Linked DNA regions of Homo sapiens: all the other regions are linked to region 4. The links are contacts of gene promoters, found by promoter capture Hi-C in blood cells and fetal thymus (Javierre and others, 2016). All regions are on one chromosome and are shown on one strand. Each heading gives the region's core, a stretch centred on a gene start or on the middle of the fragment in contact. The rest is flanking DNA. Distances are from core to core; before and after follow the strand shown.

Region 1 (2,700 bases), core at 86-2,585, 770 kb before region 4:
GGTGGCTCATGCCTGTAATCCCAGCACTCTGGGAGGCCAAGGCCGGAGGATTTCTTGAGGCCAGGAGTTCGAGACCAGCCTGGGCAATATAGTGACACCTTGTCTCTACAGAAACCTTAAAAAATTAGCGGAGCATGGTGGTGTACACCTGTGGTCCCAGCTACTCGGGAGACTTAGGTGGGAGGATCACTTGAGCCTGGGAGGCAGAGGTTGCAAGAGCTGAGATTGCTCCACTGCACTCCAGTCTGAGTGATGGAGCGAGACCTTGTCTCAAAAAAAAAATTTTTTTAAATCTTTTCTTTCCTTCCTTCCTTCCTTCCTTCCTTCCTTCCTTCCTTCCTTCCTTCCTTCGTTTTTTCTTTTTTTTAAACAGTCTTGCTCTGTCACCCAGGCTGTAGTGCAATGGTGCCATCTCGACTCACTGCAACCTCCGCCTCCCGAGTTCAAGCAGTTCTTGTGCCTCAGCCTCCCCAGTAGCTGGGATTACAGGCATGAGCCACCGTGCCCGGCCATTTTTTCCCCCCAGTCTTGTAGAGATCTCTCCTGGAGTTTTCTATCTACTCCAAAACGGATTGGTTACCCTGTTGGCCTAGTTCCAGAGGTAGATTTCCCATGAAACTAGTAAAGCTTAAGCTTCAGGGGCCCTCACTGGCTTCAGCAATGAATTCATATGGTCATAAGTTACATAAAATTTGCAAAATAAGATATTTTAACTGTGATTGGCTAAACTGCTGTCTCTTTCCTGTCTAGCTTTTCCTCAGTCGCATTTCCTCTCACATTGCTGTTTCGGGATCAGACCAATGGGAAATAAATAGGAGATCTTAGCATGGGTTTAGTTAGATTATTTATGTAGTTCACAGTCACAGCTATGTAAAGTTGGGTTATTGTCAGCCATTCCAGTAGGAATTGCTTCCAGAAATATTCACACCTCTTACTGTCGTAATTCACCCTGGGTGCAAGGGTGAATATGCACCACAGAGGTGCGCCTGTAGTCCCAGCTACTATGGAGGCTAAGGTGGGAAGATGGCTTGAGCCCAGTTGAGATCGTGCCACTGCACTTGAGCCTGGGCAGTATAGCCAGACCCTGTCTCAACAACAACAACAACAAAACATTTTGCTATACTTTTTTTTTTTTTGAGACAGGGTCTGGCTCTGTTGCCCAGGTGGGAGTGCAGTGGCACCATCTCGGCTCACTGCAACCTCCACCTCCTGGGCTCAAGCCATCCTCCCACGTCAGCCTCCCAAGTAGCTGGGACTACTGGTGCATGCCAGCACATCCGGCTAATGTTTGTATTTTTAGTAGAGATGGAGTCTCACCATGCTGCCCAGGCTGGTCTCAAACTCCTGAGCTCGAGCAGTCCATCTGCCTCGGCCTTACAGGTGTGAGCCACCATGCCCCGCCAGCAAAATGTTAAGTGTAGAATTTAGATGACAGGTATATGGTGTTCACTGTAAAGTTCTTTTAACTTTTGTATAGGTTTGAACATTTTCATGAAACACTGTTGGAGGACAAGTATATAGCTGAAAAATAAAGGAAAAAAGTATTATAGACAGGGATCAAGCAGTTAATTCATTTAAAAATTCTATCTTTTGGCCAGGCGCGGTGGCTCACGCCTGTAATCCCAGCACTTTGGGAGGCCAAAGTGGGCGGATCACCTGAGGTCAGGAGTTCAAGACCAGCCTGGCCAACATGGAGAAACCCCGTCTCTACTAAAAATACAAAAAATTAGCTGGGCGTGTAATCCCAGCTACTCGGGAGGCTGAGCTAGGAGAATTGCTTGAACCCAGGAGGCAGAGGTTGCAGTGAGCTGAGATCACGCCATTGTACTCTAGCCTGGGCAACAAGAGCAAAACTCTGTCTCGAAAAAAAAAAAATTATTTTTCTAGATTTTGTGATGTCTGTGGTATTTTTGTTAGCTTTTAAAATTTTTGTTGTGATTTCTCATTGTAAATAAATATTCATTTTTATACCTAATTTTGTATTTACAATTTTGTATTTTACTTTTAAGAAGAGGACCCTCAAATTGCATAAGCTTCAGGCCCCACAAGACCTGGATCCACTCCTGCCTGGTACACAGCTGACATTCTCAAAGCTATTTTCACTTTGACTTCGGAATTTCCAGTCTCCATATCCTTAAGATTCCTTTCATCCCTCCTGTGTTGAAGCTTTCATTTACTGGATCCTATGTCTCCTTAGTGTCTTCATTCTTGAATTCATCCTCCTTTTGATGAGTCATATACTCCAATAGCTTCCCAAGAAAGGTTGCATAAGAAATTCATTTTTGAATTTATTGTAATCATGCAATGATTTTTATTCTGTTCTCCCACTTGATTGATAGTTTGCCTGAGTATAGAATTCTAGGTTGAAAATAATTTTCCTCCAGAATTTTGAAGGCATTTCCCAATTGTCTTCTAGCTTCCAGTATTGCTACTGAGAAATCTAAAGACGTTCTGATTTCTGATCTTTTATTTCTGATCTATTTTTCTATCTCTGGAAACGTAAAGGATCTTTTTATCCATAGAGTTCTGAAATTTCATGATAATGTGGCTTGACGTGAGTTAATTTCCATCTATTGGTTATGGGTACTAAGTGGGCCCTTTAAATCTGAAAACCTGTGTTTCTAAGTTTAGGGAAATTTTAGAGAATTAATTTTAAAAATAATGTTATCTGTTTCTCTCTTTTCTCTCTTCCTGGAACTC
Region 2 (2,728 bases), core at 193-2,692, 970 kb before region 4:
GTTTTAAGTGGGAAGGAAAGGAAGAGAGTGGGGCGTGAAAATGGGAGATCAGTTTTAACTCAGATTTAATTCAATGGTTCGCGTTTCCTCCCATCTTTCTCTGCATCAAAATGCAGGTAGATCGGTGAAATTTCAAGTTTCTTGGGTCGTTAAATACCCCAATTTAAACGATGGAGGCTGGGAACTGGGGATATAAGGAGGAAACCTAGGGTTGGAAGGGCGGGCAGGGTTAAAGAGGTTCGGGAGCTCCGCAGATCTGAGCGAAGCATGCGAGGCTGCCGCGCCCGGGCAGCGGCTGCGTCTCGGGTTCTCGCCCTGCCCGCTGCCTCGGGTTTTTGCCAGTGACTGCGCCGTCTTGGCTGCCCACCCACACCTCGGGTTGGTCCCGACTTTAGGCTAGGCCATTCACTTCCGGTGACAAATCCCTCCCACCACCCCTAGAAATAATGTACCGCTTCTCCCACCGCTTTCCTAAGACCGACCGCCCCAGAGAGCCACGGAGCCCGGGGCTAGGGTCTCACCCCAGCGCGGCCGGCGACGCCCAGCTGCGGAGGGAGTGGCCGGGACCGAGCTCGGGGAGGGCAGGGAAGAAAGAGGAAGGGGGTGTGGATCTCACCTTCCCCCGCCCCCACCCCTCCGACTGCAGCAATTGGCCAAAAAAATAGTAATCCTTTTATGGACTCCCCCAGGGCCCCTCGAACCAGGTTGCAGTGAGGAACCCAGTCTCTCCCATCGCAGTGCCCCTTGCCTTCTCCTGCCCTAGTAACTGCCTGCGGGGATCCAGGAGCCCCCAGGCCGCGCCGAACTGCAGTGGATAGGGGGGAGGGGGGCGGTAAGGATGAGGGCTACGGGGAGGCAGAAATGGGTTGGGGGAAGGGGTGGTGGAAGGGAAAAGAAAAAACCGGAGGCATGCAAGCGGCTCCCCAGCCAGCTGTTCCAGCTGCTGCTTCCTCCGGCGCGGGCCAGGCGGTGCAATATTCCCCCCCGCTCCATCTTTCTCACCACTACCTGTCCCCCCAACCCACCACACGCACTCATCCCTCCCACCCACACCCCTAGTAGCGGATCTCCGGCCTGTAAGGGGGTAGTAGGGAGGAGCTGGGGGGAGGGGGAGGCCTGCGAGTTTCTAACCTTGTTCTTATAAACAAACCCACATGTGCAGCTGCCGCTGCTGCAACTCACCCCACAATCCCGGATATAAGTCCTGCCCCTTTAAGAGGAAAAAAAAGATTCCCCCGCCTGCCTCCCACCCCACCCATCCACAAGAACCTTTGTCTTCCCACCCCCATAGTCAGTCGGCCCCGCCCCATCTCCCCGCCCCCTCCGACGCAGAGGAACCAATAGGCGAAGAAAATAAGGCCGGGGATCTGACATCATCATGTTAGGCCAATCACCGGACGCGTTGGTGGGAGGCCTCACGGACAGCGCGCCCGGAGGAAGGAAGACAAGAGAGAGGAAGCTTGAAGCCAATATGGAGTCCGTCAGTTGCTCCGCTGCTGCTGTCAGGACCGGAGACATGGAGTCCCAGCGGGACCTGAGCCTGGTGCCTGAGCGGCTTCAGAGACGCGAACAAGAACGGCAGCTGGAAGTTGAAAGGCGGAAACAAAAGCGGCAGAACCAGGAGGTAGAGAAGGAGAACAGCCACTTTTTCGTCGCCACCTTTGTTCGGGAGCGAGCGGCCGTGGAAGAGCTTCTGGAGCGCGCGGAGTCGGTCGAGCGGCTGGAGGAGGCGGCCTCTCGGCTCCAGGGGCTGCAGAAACTAATCAACGACTCAGTTTTTTTCCTAGCCGCTTACGACCTGCGGCAGGGACAAGAGGCGCTGGCGCGGCTGCAGGCGGCCTTGGCCGAGCGGCGCCGGGGGCTGCAGCCCAAGAAGCGTTTCGCTTTCAAGACCCGGGGAAAGGATGCTGCTTCGTCTACCAAAGTAGACGCGGCTCCTGGCATCCCCCCGGCAGTTGAAAGCATACAGGACTCCCCGCTGCCCAAGAAGGCGGAAGGAGACCTCGGCCCCAGCTGGGTCTGCGGTTTCTCCAACCTGGAGTCCCAAGTCTTGGAGAAGAGAGCCAGCGAGTTGCACCAGCGCGACGTTCTTTTGACCGAACTGAGCAACTGCACGGTCAGACTGTATGGAAATCCCAACACCCTGCGGCTAACCAAGGCCCACAGCTGCAAGCTGCTCTGCGGTCCGGTGTCTACCTCTGTTTTCCTGGAGGACTGCAGTGACTGCGTGCTGGCAGTGGCCTGCCAACAGCTCCGCATACACAGTACGAAAGACACCCGCATCTTCCTGCAGGTGACCAGCAGGGCCATCGTGGAGGACTGCAGTGGGATCCAGTTCGCCCCTTACACCTGGAGCTACCCGGAGATCGACAAGGACTTCGAGAGCTCTGGTTTAGATAGGAGCAAAAATAACTGGAACGATGTTGACGATTTTAACTGGCTGGCCCGGGATATGGCCTCCCCAAACTGGAGTATTCTTCCTGAAGAGGAGCGAAATATCCAGTGGGACTAAGCAGTTGTCACTCTGTTCTTCACTCCTACCAAATACTTTCCACGTTGGACTTTCCCCCTTATTGGGTCTCGAAGTTTACTTATTGTCACACTGTGTATGTTTTCAGCATTTTAAGGCTAGAGATTGTAATGGGCTCCTACTTGTAATTTCCATTAAATTCGTAACAGGTATAACACTAAAGCATTTTTGCTATTTTCGTCATGCCTTTGAGACTGA
Region 3 (2,763 bases), core at 108-2,607, 790 kb before region 4:
AACACGACCACAAAGATGAGAAGGTTTGTTTGCTTGCTCAAGTTTTGGAAATCCAAATGCAGGATCTTCACCACAAAGGTACCATTCCATTGGTCCCAACAAAACATGCTGTGCCAGCATGTCTTCTTTCTGTGGAAAAGGGTTGGGACCCCTGCAGTAGATTTTGGGTACATAGTGGGCTAAATGCTGGTACACTTCTCTAGTGAGGTCAGTTGCTTGCAGCCATTTCTTTAAAAGAAGAAAAGAGAAGAAATGGTTTTAAACACCAACAAACTAATTTGAACAAATTCACCCTACTTTCTTTTAGGTACAAAAATAATGACAAAAGCATATTAAAATATTTTGTTTACAACACTCACCACCGTACGTTAGAAATTTAATCTATTAAAATGCCAAGTATGTTTAAATCCTACTTTTAAGTGTAAGTAAAATTAAAATGAAACAAGCCTCCCTCCTTCCCTGCAAAATGACTCTTGAAGCAATCTTCTCTAGGCAGTACCAGAAAATAATTACAAGAAATCATTATATAAGATATGAACCATTGAGCTCACCTAATGTCCTTCCTAATGCTTTGCTCAAATGTTATTCTCATTGTGATATCAATTCTCACGTCAGTTTGTCCATAGGAAGAGTGTACGGTGAATATGAACAGCCAATATGTACGGTGAACATGAACAGCCAATACACATTTCTTAATGATTGATAAGCAAGTTTATATACCAGTCTCTTATTGAATAAGTCAGTCCACAAGAGACTGTTGTACCAATTATGCCTTCTTTCTCTGATCAACTTCTCTCTCTCTATAAGGCCTTTTCCGTTTGCTCTCCCCACTAAAAACAAATTTTAAAGCATGATTCTACTTAGATCTCATAGGTACCAACTCAATAACTGAATGCATGATCTCCCCTCCATGCTCCACCAAAATCTGTTATTTTCTCCATTTCCAGCTCAACCTGGGTATCCACACCGAAAAATCTGAAAAGCTTCCCAGCACTTTGGGAGGCCAGGCCAAGCAGATCACCTGAGGTCAGGAGTTCAAGACCAGCCTGGCCAACATGGTGAAGTCTCTTCTCTACTAAAAATATAAAAATTAGCTGGATGTGGTGGCGCATGCCTGTAATCACAGTTACTCAAGAGGCTGAGGCAGGAGAAATCGCTTAAACCCAGGAGGCAGAGGTTGTAGTGAGCCAAGATCCAGCCTGGGCGACAGAGCAAGAGTCTGTCTCAAAGGACAAAAAAAAAAAAAGACTCACTTCTGCTAGAATGCAGTTAACTGAACCGTGAACAAAACCCACAGATGGAGGGAAAGAGGAAGGGGAAGTGAGTTGAAAAACTACCTATTGGGTACTATGCTCACTACCCAGGTGCAATATACTCATGTAACAAACCTGCACATGTATTCCTTAAATCTAAAGTAAAAGCTGAAATTAAAAAAAACCTCCAATGTTTACCTATGGATTACTACCTAATTCCAGTTACATTTTTATTTAAAAAAAAAAAAAAAGTATGTTCAAGTGATATGTAACATCATAAGAAGTCAACATAAGGTCTTCATTTTAGCTATTACTTGTATATTCTTCAGACCACTCCTTCTAAAAACAACATACAGAGAGATTTTAAATATGCATGAGGTGATGTATATTAACTTTCTAGTCAATTTCTGTTTTCAGAGAACTTTTACTAAAAATGTAAAAATTTTGTTCATAAGTTAAGGGACTGGATAGAAGCTTATAACCAAAAACGGTGAAAGAGTTTTCATGCTTAAAGTGAAACTAAACTATTTTCCAAATATTACTAACATTGTTGTGTTTACATTATGCAAGTAGGAAAGAGACTAAATTACTTTCAAAACAACAGCATTTCTTCCCTGGTGGCCAAGTGGTTAGGGAAAAAAAAATAAAAATAAAAATAAAACAGCAGCAGCAGCATCATTTCTTAGGAGACAATCCTACAGGCTTTAAGTATTCTCTCCCTTCAGAGTGACTCAATCAAAATTTTATATATACATACACATCCTTTAAGCTCAGTAATTATAAAGAGGACAAGTTTTAAAAAAAGAAAAAGAGTCCTCAACAAGCATACTAGAATCTTATTCTTTGAGCTAAAAGACCTCGTTTTGGCCTCATTCAAAGGTAAATGTCTCATTTTTCACCCATTGTCAGCAAACCAAAACAAGAATGAAGGTAGTCAAATGATCCTAAGCGCTTTTTTTTTTTTTTTTTTTTGAGTCTCGTGCTGTCGCCCAGGCTGGAGTGCAGTGGTACGATCTCGGCTCACTGCAACCTCTGCCTCCCAGGTTCAAGTGATTCTCCTGCCTCAGCCTCCTGAGTAGCTGGGGTTACAGGTGTGCACCACCACACGCGGCTAATTTTTGTATTTTTAGTAGAGACAAGGTTTCACTATGTTGACCAGGCTTGTCTCAAACTCCTGACATCAGGTGATCTGCCCACCTCGGCCTCCCAAAGGTGCTAGGATTCAATTTACTCTTTATGAAAGAAAAATTAAGCAATAAGACCAAAATAATTCACCTCCATGATCCTAGAAAGTTAAGTGCTTCGGACTTTTTTTTACAACATATTGAAAGATTTTATTTAAAAACCAGTTTTTTTCCTTATATTTTATGTTCCCATTCCTGTAAAACTTCACTGTTGCAAAATTTTAATACAAGAATGAAAGGTTACTTTAGAAGGGATGCTTTTTTTTTTTTTTTTTTTTTTTTGAGACGGAGTCTTGCTCTGTCACCCAGGCTGGAGTGCAGTGGCG
Region 4 (2,700 bases), core at 99-2,598:
CCTAGCACTGGAACACCCTTACTAACAGGCCAGCTGGATTCCTTCCATAATTCCCTTCCCCCTCCCACCTCAGATAAGGGACAGAGCTGAACCCCTTGTCTTGCCTCCGTGCAGAGCCTCCGTGCAAGAGGGCTCAGGAGCTGGACATCCCCAACACCCGCTGCCCTGAAGGGCAGAGCCCGAGAGGACTTAGGGCTTGGGGAGGTGGAGGGATGGGAAGATTTCTGGGGACAGTGGGAGGGAGAAGGAAGGGGAGTGCCCAGTCCCGCCAACTGCCCTCTCGATAGATCCCCAGAGTTTTTCTGGAACTTGGCGGGCCCGCCTCCGGGGCTGGGACGCGGTGTTTCCCGAGTCCGCTGGGGTTCCCGGTCTGGCTGCTGGGATTTTAGGGGAGGGGACCAGGACTCCGCTGGGGTCTCACCCTCGCTGTGCGTCGCTGTCCGGGCAGTTCTGGACCGACTCTGCCGTCAGGCCCCTCACCCGGTCCCCACCCCAAGGCTTCAGCGCCCGCCCCCGTCCGCCCCCGCCCGCCCTAATAGCGCGGCCCTTCCTCTCCCACGCCCCAGCGGCCCCCGCCCGCCCCTCCCCGGCTGGTGGAGAGGGGCGGCTCAGGGAGGGGCCTGGAGCTGCAGATTGGGGGGAGGAAAAAAAAAAGGAAAACAAAACCACATTTATGGGATCTCAGGGTGGAAATGTGCGGGCTCCATGGCCTCTGCCATGCAGGTGCAAGGGCTCTCTGGCTCGGACTGCGCCCGGCAGGCATCCAGCAGACGCCGGGAGCCGCGTTTACGCTGGGTTTTCAACCATTCGCTGAATGGAAACGCCTCGCCGGGCCCGCAGCCCTGTCTCTCCGCAGTTCCCAGGTCTCCCCAAACTCTCCCTGTGGTCTCCCAGCCCCGCTCCTCCGCGTGTTTCCCTTCAGTTCTCTCCCCCTTGTCCCCAGTGGTCCCCCTGGCCCCTTCCCCTCCCCTCAACCCTCTTCCAGGTTCCATCGTCTTGCCCTTCTCCTTTCAGGTCCCTTCAGACCCTCTCCCCTTCCCTTCGTTTCTCGCCCAACCCTCCGTCCCCTTTCCGCTCCCCGGACCACCCCCAACTTTGGTGTCCTCAGCCCCGCCTCCGCGCCCCGCCTCCGCCGCAGGCTCCGCCCTGTCCCCTCCGGGCTTGCTCAGCCCCTGGCCAGGAGCGCCCTCTGGCGTCTGCGCATGCTCACTGCTCCCGACTGCAAAGTCCTCCAAAGGGACCTTCTAGGCTGCGTGCCGGTCGCCCCCGCTCGGGTCCGCCAGCCCGCAGCGTCTCGTTGGTGCTGCCGGTGACCTCCGACCCCGCGGCCGCGGGGCGGGGCGGGGCGGGGAGGCCTTAGCTCCGGGCGGGCGGCGGCTGCTGCAGCGGGACCCGGGAGCGGGGCCCGGCGCCGCCCGGGCCGCGGGGCGATGTGAGTCGGGGCGCGGCGGGGCGGGGACGAGGCGGCTTCACCGAGGCCGCGCCGCGCCGCGCCGCGCCGCGCCGCAGTCTCCACTCCCTCCCTAGGAAGCCCCGGGCGGGCGGGCAGGCGGCGGAGCACCGGGGCTGGGGGCGGGGATCCGGGGACAGCGCGCACCCAGACCTCCTCATTCCTTACGGGCATGTAGAAATTCCCCTTGACAGTCCTGTAGCCTGTCCTGCAGCCTCTGGCTCCCCCAACCCACCTCTACCCTCTCCGCCCTGGACACATCATCGCATCTCCTGGAGCCCTCAGAACCCCCTCATTCACTCAACAAATCTCCTGCTATGCCCACGGACCCACCATTTCTCTTGGATGCCCCCAAATGCTTCCACTGCCCGGAAATTCCTAGGATCCCTCATATCCCCATTCTCCTTGCACTATCCAAAATGCCCACATCCAAAATTCTTGCTCATGTTTCCCCAAACGTCCTCATACGTTTTCAGCCCCCACACCCCCCTCTCACTCCTGCCCCTGATCCATACCTATCCCAGACCAGAGGCCTCTCCCCATTTCCACTCAATGCAGTCCCTCCTCAGTGGGCTATCTGATACATCCTGATATCTTAAGGAGAAGAGATGGTGATAGGGAAATTCAGCCCCTCCCCCATCTTGCACCCTAGAGTTCTTCGTTTCAGTGCCCGCGCCGTGCCCCCGTCGGTGGCTCAAGCCCCAGTATTTTCCCAGCAACCTATCTTTAGTCTGTGCACACCTCCCTGAGCCTGCTTCTTCCTTCCAGAAAATAAGCCAGACCAAGGGGATGGGGTCCTTTTACCTGGAAGTTGTCCAAGGATGCAGGGTGCAAGGGGCCCTGGGAAGTGTTTCTCCAGAGCAGGAATGTGGGATGTCCAGGGTCTGCAGAGTCCTGGCTTGTTGACTTGTCTACCTTGGGCTCAGATATCCTGAAATTTTGGCTTACTGTTAACATTTATGTTAAAATTAGGCCTTTCAGAGCTTGGGGAGCAGAAAATCTATCAAGCTTCCAAATGCGAAATTGAAGCAGCCTGTCTTGGAAGATGAACATGTCAATTTTAGTGAAGTTTGTCTTACGTTTTTACCTCTGCAAGTTATTTAAGCTAGAAGCTCCCCAGTTTATAGATGGTTCCCCCAAAAACTAAGGCCTTAGGTGGGAGTTGGGGGGGGCGTTGACTTAAGTCTCCCAGATACTTAGTAGCAACAAAACTGACCGATATATTGGTTTCCTGAGTCTTAAACCAGTGC

What was found. The method cuts DNA at HindIII sites, captures the fragments that hold promoters and counts their contacts. A CHiCAGO score of 5 or more calls a contact.
Region 1: a contact is called between a fragment that was not itself captured here and the fragment with the promoter of FRS3 in region 4, in 5 of 17 cell types (total CD8 T cells, naive CD8 T cells, neutrophils and 2 more). The highest score is 10.3, in total CD8 T cells.
Region 2: the fragment with the promoter of TBCC here is called in contact with the fragment with the promoter of FRS3 in region 4 in 1 of 17 cell types (fetal thymus); the score reaches 5.7 in fetal thymus.
Region 3: a contact is called between a fragment that was not itself captured here and the fragment with the promoter of FRS3 in region 4, in 2 of 17 cell types (total CD8 T cells and naive CD4 T cells). The highest score is 5.3, in total CD8 T cells.

What each region holds. Positions count from the first base shown.
Region 1 is chr6:42,550,943-42,553,642 of GRCh38, reverse strand. No RefSeq gene overlaps it. Among named protein-coding and RNA genes, the nearest start is that of UBR2, 12 kb to the left of the region's middle. The HindIII fragment of the contact is 1,400 bases long and covers 636-2,035 here.
Region 2 is chr6:42,744,817-42,747,544 of GRCh38, reverse strand. TBCC (tubulin folding cofactor C) reads left to right here and starts at 1,442. Exons shown (of 1, transcript NM_003192.3): 1 at 1,442-2,728. The coding sequence starts at 1,472. The coding sequence ends at 2,512. It also overlaps a transcript of BICRAL not described here. RefSeq lists a silencer at 384-443 and enhancers at 386-1,349, 1,414-1,623, 1,654-1,733, 1,794-1,953. The HindIII fragment of the contact is 2,174 bases long and covers 1-1,461 here.
Region 3 is chr6:42,571,199-42,573,961 of GRCh38, reverse strand. UBR2 (ubiquitin protein ligase E3 component n-recognin 2) reads right to left here. Exons shown (of 47, transcript NM_001363705.2): 2 at 1-228. Among named protein-coding and RNA genes, the nearest start is that of UBR2, 8.6 kb to the right of the region's middle. RefSeq lists enhancers at 1,003-1,052, 1,143-1,202. The HindIII fragment of the contact is 744 bases long and covers 986-1,729 here.
Region 4 is chr6:41,778,548-41,781,247 of GRCh38, reverse strand. It overlaps FRS3 (fibroblast growth factor receptor substrate 3), which reads left to right and starts at 1,348. Exons shown (of 7, transcript NM_006653.5): 1 at 1,348-1,432. PRICKLE4 (prickle planar cell polarity protein 4) reads right to left here and starts at 466. Exons shown (of 8, transcript NM_013397.6): 1 at 422-466. RefSeq lists silencers at 683-752, 1,033-1,442, 1,473-1,622. The HindIII fragment of the contact is 6,259 bases long and covers 1-2,460 here.